Linked DNA regions of Homo sapiens: region 1 is linked to region 2. The links are contacts of gene promoters, found by promoter capture Hi-C in human tissues and cell types (Jung and others, 2019). All regions are on one chromosome and are shown on one strand. The core of a region is centred on a gene start or on the middle of the fragment in contact, and the rest is flanking DNA. Distances in the headings are between cores, read along the strand shown.

Region 1 (3,479 bases), core at 861-3,360, 1.2 Mb after region 2:
ATTCTCTCTTAAATAATTTTTTCATTCACAATTATTTCTTCCAAACATTCTTATTGTACAGGTGTAAAATGTCATGTACCTTTTGAACATCTCTGAACATTAACAGAAGATATAAAGATATTCAAAAAGGGTAGTTGTTACACGTACTTTGAAGCCAGTAATCACATATTTGTGTTTGTTACTGATGTCTTAATGTCCCAAAGTTGCTCTAAGTAGTTACAAGAACACAGAATAAAAATCATGAGCTTGGGGAAACATATTTTCTAACCAGTAGAACATCAATATGCCACAAATATTTTCTCTACTGACAAACTGTAATGAGGTAAAAATGCCTTCCTGCAGTAAAATCTTACCTTGAGGTTAGATGCCATCTATCTGTAGCTAAGGCATCCAAAACAAAATAAAACAAAACAAAAAAACAAAAAAAAAGTGTAATTCTTACCAATACAAAAAACAAAACTCAGACTATTGTAGGAGTCTGCCATTTTTCATAATAATTTTATGTTTAATCATAATTTTACCATTTGTAATCTTTTCAATTTTTCTGCTTTTTCCTATTAGAGATGAGTTTTAACATTACTGGTGTCCAAAACAAGTAAAAGAAACAGGTAAAATATAGTAGAGGAGATGAAAAATATAGCAATGATCTCACATTTGTGTAGTTCTCTAGAATTTACAAAGTGCTTTTGGATAGAACAACAACCTCAAATTGAAGTCCAGATTAGAATATTAAATTGATCAATTCTTTATTATTATTACTAACATTGTTTTACAAACTGTGAGGATATTCATTACACAGTACAGAGATCTGGTACTCATTTTGAGGAATGAAATGTAATGACTAAACACAGTATAAACAGTATAACCTATTTCACATTTCATAGAAAAGCTATTTGCTTTGGCTAAGTAAATAAATCCTTTCCACTCAGAAACAACTGTTGCAAATATGTAAATTTTAGATAATCAAACACTGTCCCTTGAAATAGTCTATTTATTGTAACTCTAAAAATCATTCTGGGGATACTTAGCTTAATCTCAGGGTACATTATACATTTCACACATTTAACATTTTATTTTGTAAAAAATGCAATTGAAATTGAGTACCTCCTTATTTTGGTGGAGGGTATTATAATCATTTTTCTCTAACTTTTAGATGTCAGGGAATAGTACTTGGATTTTACATAGATATGTTTTGTTTCTTCAGAATGCAAGCTCTGATTTCAGATTTAGTCAGAAAAGAGATACACATAAATCTATATGACCAGAAGAGATAAGTAGATCGTAAAAAGTCCACACACATCATAACCCTGCACATCTAACACACAGATAAGGACAGTTACAGATTATTATGGCATGGATAACTTGATAATCTATGGTGAATCTATGATAAATTTCAAACTATAACAAATACAATGACTCATATTTTTTAAGGAAACAAACCATGAAGGCATAAATTTACCCTGAGATTTGTGTCACTAAGAAACTGAATAGTTCAAAGTCAAACATTATATGACATGCTTTAGATTGCTCTTATGAAAGGCACTATAGAAATGTCACCCTATTATAACCTACTGTATTTAAGAATTAACTGCAGCAGAATAGCCACAGGAGATGAATATATACTGATATGATCATCCCCTCCTATTACTCACCAGTAGTTAATACAAAGCATGCTTTAGAAAAGAATCTATAAGACAAAGAAATAAACACACTGTTAAAAAAGTACTGCATTTAATATCAGGATTTTTAAATTAATTCTAACAAACCCTTATATTGTAGTATTTTATCTTTAATAATAGGAGCTTTTCATTTAAATGATGCAATCAGTATGCCACAAGCGGGTTCTTTCTTTAGTGGGAGGAGTTAGCAGCTCCAACATTCAATTGACCTGTTTCCAAATAATCTACAGGAAAAAAATGAAGATTAAGTCCTCTAACAAGAGCAGTTTTCACAGCCTTGCATACAAAGAGAAGGATTCGGTAAAAAGATGAGAGGGCAAGCCGCATTGTGCTGGCCCACTTAAATCTTATTTCCAATTCACTAAATGTGTTATTTGACTTGGCAAGTGAACTAGTATGTGTATTAGATCAGCAGGGAGCCTAATCAAGGAGATGCCAAGTTTACTGCAGCCCCTCTGAGCTGCATTAGCCTCAACTAGTGACCTTAAGCAAAGTGGGTGGTTGAACCCAAAAGAGAATAGCATTAACTTTTGCTTGAAGTTCAGCCTGAAGTCTCCTTTTGTGCCTTATTCCAAAAAAAAAAAAAAAAAAAATGCAAAAAGCATTTAACAGAATTGAATATAACAGAATTGAATCTAGTCTGCTCAGCACCATCTTCACACGCAAGGCTTCATAGAAGCTTGCCTCCATTAATGCTGACACATGCAAAAGAAATGAAAAGCATTAACTCAGCTGAGGCACTTGATTTTGCAGCTGCAGAACAATTCACTTTGTAACTCAGTAACTAAGATGGGGTTTTTCCGCCCAGATAAATTGCTAATTTGCTAATTGATACAAAAGTATTTTCAAATATTAAATAAACTGCAAATAAAGCAAAAAGAAAAAGAACACTAAGTTACAAGGACACCTGAAAAATATATAGCTTAGCATTAACGGATATACATATTTTTAAAGACCTATTTTACCTTGTACACAGCATTGAGCATCCATTCCCAGTTGTATGTAATAGCTTGGATGTGTAAGTGAACTCTTCAACGATATATTTGTACCAAGTAAAATGCAAACCTGTGTAGTTAAAAAATGTTGTTATATAATAAATTCAAGCAATAGATTTATCTTTAGAAACATCTTTGTTCTCAATTTAGTTTCCCTATTTTAAACTTTCCGTCTTGTCTATATACTCAAAGACTTCTAATAATGCCAGTTTTACACATTGTTTAGAAATACTTTGGAATCTATCTTTAATTCCAGGATGTTCGACTCAGAAATACTCATACAGCAAAAATTGGTTGGATATGAAGATTACAAAGTTATTGAAACTCAAAGACCTTCTGTAATGCCTTTGGTTGTAAAAGTTTTCTCTTTCCTAAGCCAAGGTTCTTTTCTTTTCTTTTTTTATTCATCCTTCATTTTCCACTGTTTGTTTGGCTTCCCTCCTCAGATCTGAAACGAAGCCAAGCAAAGCAACATCACCTTCTGGAAAGTGCAGAAACTGCAATCAAGATCAACAAAGAAAAGCACCCTTCCCATAGATTCATCTCTTTGGCGTTTAAGTGTTTGGGCGAGTCTACAAAACTCAGATTCCTCATTTAACTAGATGTTCCAGGTCACAGAGATATTCTACTAAGGCAATTTTCAAAAGACCATAAAACCACCACATCAATTTATGCTTGCAGGTAGTATAATTGCCTTTGTATCATATATTTTTAGAAAAAGTGGCTTAAAACAATTTGAATAGTGCTTTAGAAATAAGACCCTTAAATAATTGACGCTGGTATTGCCTTTCTTAACTCTGGGATT
Region 2 (3,505 bases), core at 79-2,578:
AAAGTCCCGGGATGAGAGGTAGGTTTAGAAGTGTGGATAATGAATTTGACTTGGGGCAGTGAAAAATACAAAACTGGAAATCAGAAGAGAAGTCAGAACTGAAATACAGATTTGGCTGTTATCACCATTTCATGTAAATTTTAAAAGGAGAAGGAGCAAGAAGAGTTGTCACTATAGCCAGATACAGCAGGATGAGGATTTTTTAAAAGGCCATTGGATTTGACAGCTGAAAAATCACTGATGACTTCAAGAAGACCAGTTTCAATAGATGTGGGTGGGGACAGAGCCACATCATGGTTGGTTTAAAGAATGAAGGGCTATGATTGTCTAGCCAAGGTCATTGTGCTCTTCCTCCTAGGAAACATTGAAACTGAGGTCAGAGCCTCTCTTTCTCCCTCCCTCCTTAGCTTTCTGCACACAGGGCCCACAACTGGATGCCTGAGCTAGGGGCATGATGGAGGGACAAATTAAGATTGTTGGGTTTCTGGTGGGATAAGGGCCTAAGGATAAAGGAGCCTGATGTTGGTGAGTCATATATTGCAGGGAGCATCCTCAGTGGGGGACAGTGGGTCAGGCCAGTTCAGAGACCTGTCTCTAGAGTGGGAAAGAGAAGACACACACCTAGATCTCTGTTGGTTGAGGAAACTCTGGACCAAGAAGCTGGGTTAGAATGGGAAACAAAAGGACCTTCAAGGCTAGGGGAAGAAACATGGAATTAGTTACAAAGTTCTGCCCCAGGGAGGGAGTGGAATCTGGCAGTTTGGGGGTGGGGTCGGGGGTAGAATCTGAGGTAGTAAACTGATGTTAACTAGAAACTCAAGCAGGGTTGCCTAGGTTTCTTAGGGCACAGGGACTGGGGATGTGCAAAGAGGAACTGTTGGCAGTACTTGTGACCATAAAGATAGTAGTGAGGGGGCAGTTTATGAATTGAGGGGTCGTCCCAGCAATATCTGGCATATAGATATTTAATAATTATTTGTGAAGACAAGAGGTTAGGTAGCTCCTGGGGATCAGGGTCCAGAGTTTCTGAACAGGCATAAGAAAATACCTGGGTTCTATTCAGGCAGGGGATGGAGGCAGTGAGTAAGGGACTCCAGACAGCTTGGAGATGCAAATCCCACAAGGGAGCTTTGTACCTCTATGGGAGTTGGAAGCAAAGGTCAGGGTAGGGGGCTCACTCCCTTAACCCTAGGACCCAGGAGTTCCTATGGATCTACCAGATTTCCCCGCCTACGCACAGGCACCCTTGGCTTGTAACGCCTTCTCCGCCCACTGGGGGGCGGGGCTTGAGGGGGCCGGTGGCTGTTCTGAAGCCTCGAGGGCCATCAGTTCCTACCAGAGCCGCTGCGGGTGCCATTCCACCCATGGCCGGACACAGGCCCTCAAACCACTTCTGCCCCCTTCCAGGCAGTGGTGGGGGCGGCCCCAGAGGGCCGATGCCCCTGCGGGTTGACACTCTGACCTGGTTGAGCACCCAGGCGGCCCCTGGCAGGGTGATGGTCTGGCCGGCAGTCAGGCCAGGGATCTGCCCAGGCCCTGACGTGTGGAGGATTCCCCTGGGTCCCCTGCCACACGAATTCCGGGGCTGGATAGCACCCTGCAGGCCCCGTCTTGGAGCTAGTGAGGCAGGGGACTGGTTGCGACGCCCCTCCGAAGGCGCCCTCCCGGGGCCCTACATTGCCCTGCGGAGCATTCCGAAGTTGCCGCCGCCAGAGGACATCTCGGGCATACTGAAAGAGTTGCAGCAATTGGCCAAGGAGTTGAGGCAGAAGAGGTTGAGCCTAGGGTACTCGCAGGCCGATGTGGGGATCGCTGTGGGAGCTCTGTTTGGGAAGGTGCTTAGCCAGACGACCATCTGCCGCTTCGAGGCCCAGCAGCTAAGCGTCGCCAACATGTGGAAGCTGCGACCACTGCTGAAAAAGTGGCTGAAGGAAGTGGAAGCAGAGAACCTTCTGGGCTTATGCAAAATGGAGATGATCCTGCAACAGTCTGGGAAGTGGAGACGGGCAAGCAGAGAGCGACGAATCGGAAACAGCCTGGAGAAATTCTTCCAGCGGTGCCCTAAGCCCACACCCCAGCAAATCAGCCACATTGCTGGGTGCCTCCAGCTGCAGAAGGATGTGGTTCGAGTTTGGTTCTATAACCGCAGCAAGATGGGCAGTCGACCAACCAATGATGCTTCCCCACGGGAGATTGTGGGGACAGCCGGGCCTCCTTGCCCAGGAGCACCAGTGTGCTTTCACCTGGGACTGGGGCTCCCAGTGGATATCCCCCACTATACACGTCTCTACTCTGCAGGGGTAGCCCACTCCTCTGCCCCAGCCACCACTCTGGGCCTCCTCAGATTTTAGGGCTGAGGGGCTTGCCCTTCACGGCACGGTTGGAGAGGGGAGAAGAAGGGAAAACCCAGGAAATGTCCCTAGGGTTCATTTGAGGGCTTTTAGTATTAATTTCTCATTCACTGTCTAAAGAAGTTAAGGATACATAGTAGGGAATGGGGGTGGGAATTGTTCAAGAAAAACCTGGGAGAGAAGATGAAGTTTATTGCAGTTTTGTGTTTTCCCTTTGTTTTTCCCTAGCATTGGTTTAAAGGTACATTACAGTATATAGATGGTTTCGATATTTTGTTCCTTTTTTTATTAAATATTGTGTCTGTTATTCCTTGTGGTTATCAGTAAACATAGGGTTTAAATTTTTTCATAAACACAATACTAAGTGAAAAACTCAAGTCACAGAAGACTACCTTAGTATACAATTTTTTACTTAAAATCAAGCAGAACTCTGTGTAAACACAAACACAAAATCCAGGATAATAGTTATCTTGAGGGAATGACTTGAGAATGTGATAGGGAAGAAACACACAGAGCCCACCTAGAGCCCTTGCTGAAACACCTGAGCTTTCTTGGAAGATTTTTTTTTTTTTTTTTTTTTCTGATTTACCTTTTCATTTCTGGTGCCCCAGCTTCATGTCAGGGTCTCAGTTCCTCTCCCTACTTTATGTAGTCCCATGGGACTATGTCTTGTCCTGCCACAGTCACTGTATTCTAAACTCCTTTGTTACTGAGGTTGGCAAGCTGGACTTCAGAGCTTCGGTCCCAGCTGTAGCTTACTCCTCCTGTTTTCACCTCTATTTGGTTCCCTGGGAATTTCCCTTACTTTCTCTTGATCTCTTATAATGGTTTTGAGAGGATATTTGTAATAGTTTATCCAAACTTCCCTGGTGGTTTTTGCCATTAAACGTCAAATAACTCTTCTAATTTCATCTCTGAAATTGGTCTTTTCAGTTTTCCACTTCTACTTTGGTCAATTTTGGTCACCATATACTAAATGGAAACCATTTAGTACCTCTGTGTTTTCAAATCTGCTGTCACACACCTGCATGCTCTATTTATTGTCCTAGAATTCTATCAGTATGTATTATATCAGAGTTTATGTCTTATTTCTGGATAGTAATCTTGTCAATGTTTGCTTTTTTTGTGATCAGTCTTGCAAATGTTTTATCTAT

What was found. The method cuts DNA at HindIII sites, captures the fragments that hold promoters and counts their contacts. A contact is called where the count stands out against the background at its distance.
Region 1: a contact is called between a fragment that was not itself captured here and the fragment with the promoter of POU5F2 in region 2, in 1 of the 25 tissues and cell types used here (mesenchymal stem cells).

The regions. Positions count from the first base shown.
Region 1 is chr5:92,559,675-92,563,153 of GRCh38, reverse strand. It overlaps LOC105379082 (a long non-coding RNA gene), which reads left to right. Exons shown (of 4, transcript NR_188298.1): 3 at 3,121-3,355. Among named protein-coding and RNA genes, the nearest start is that of LINC02058, 380 kb to the left of the region's middle. RefSeq lists an enhancer at 1,808-2,464. The HindIII fragment of the contact is 8,223 bases long and covers 1-3,479 here.
Region 2 is chr5:93,739,423-93,742,927 of GRCh38, reverse strand. POU5F2 (POU domain class 5, transcription factor 2) reads left to right here and starts at 1,328. Exons shown (of 1, transcript NM_153216.2): 1 at 1,328-3,505. The coding sequence starts at 1,365. The coding sequence ends at 2,351. All of the region lies in intron 10 of ARB2A (ARB2 cotranscriptional regulator A), which reads left to right. The HindIII fragment of the contact is 4,314 bases long and covers 1-3,505 here.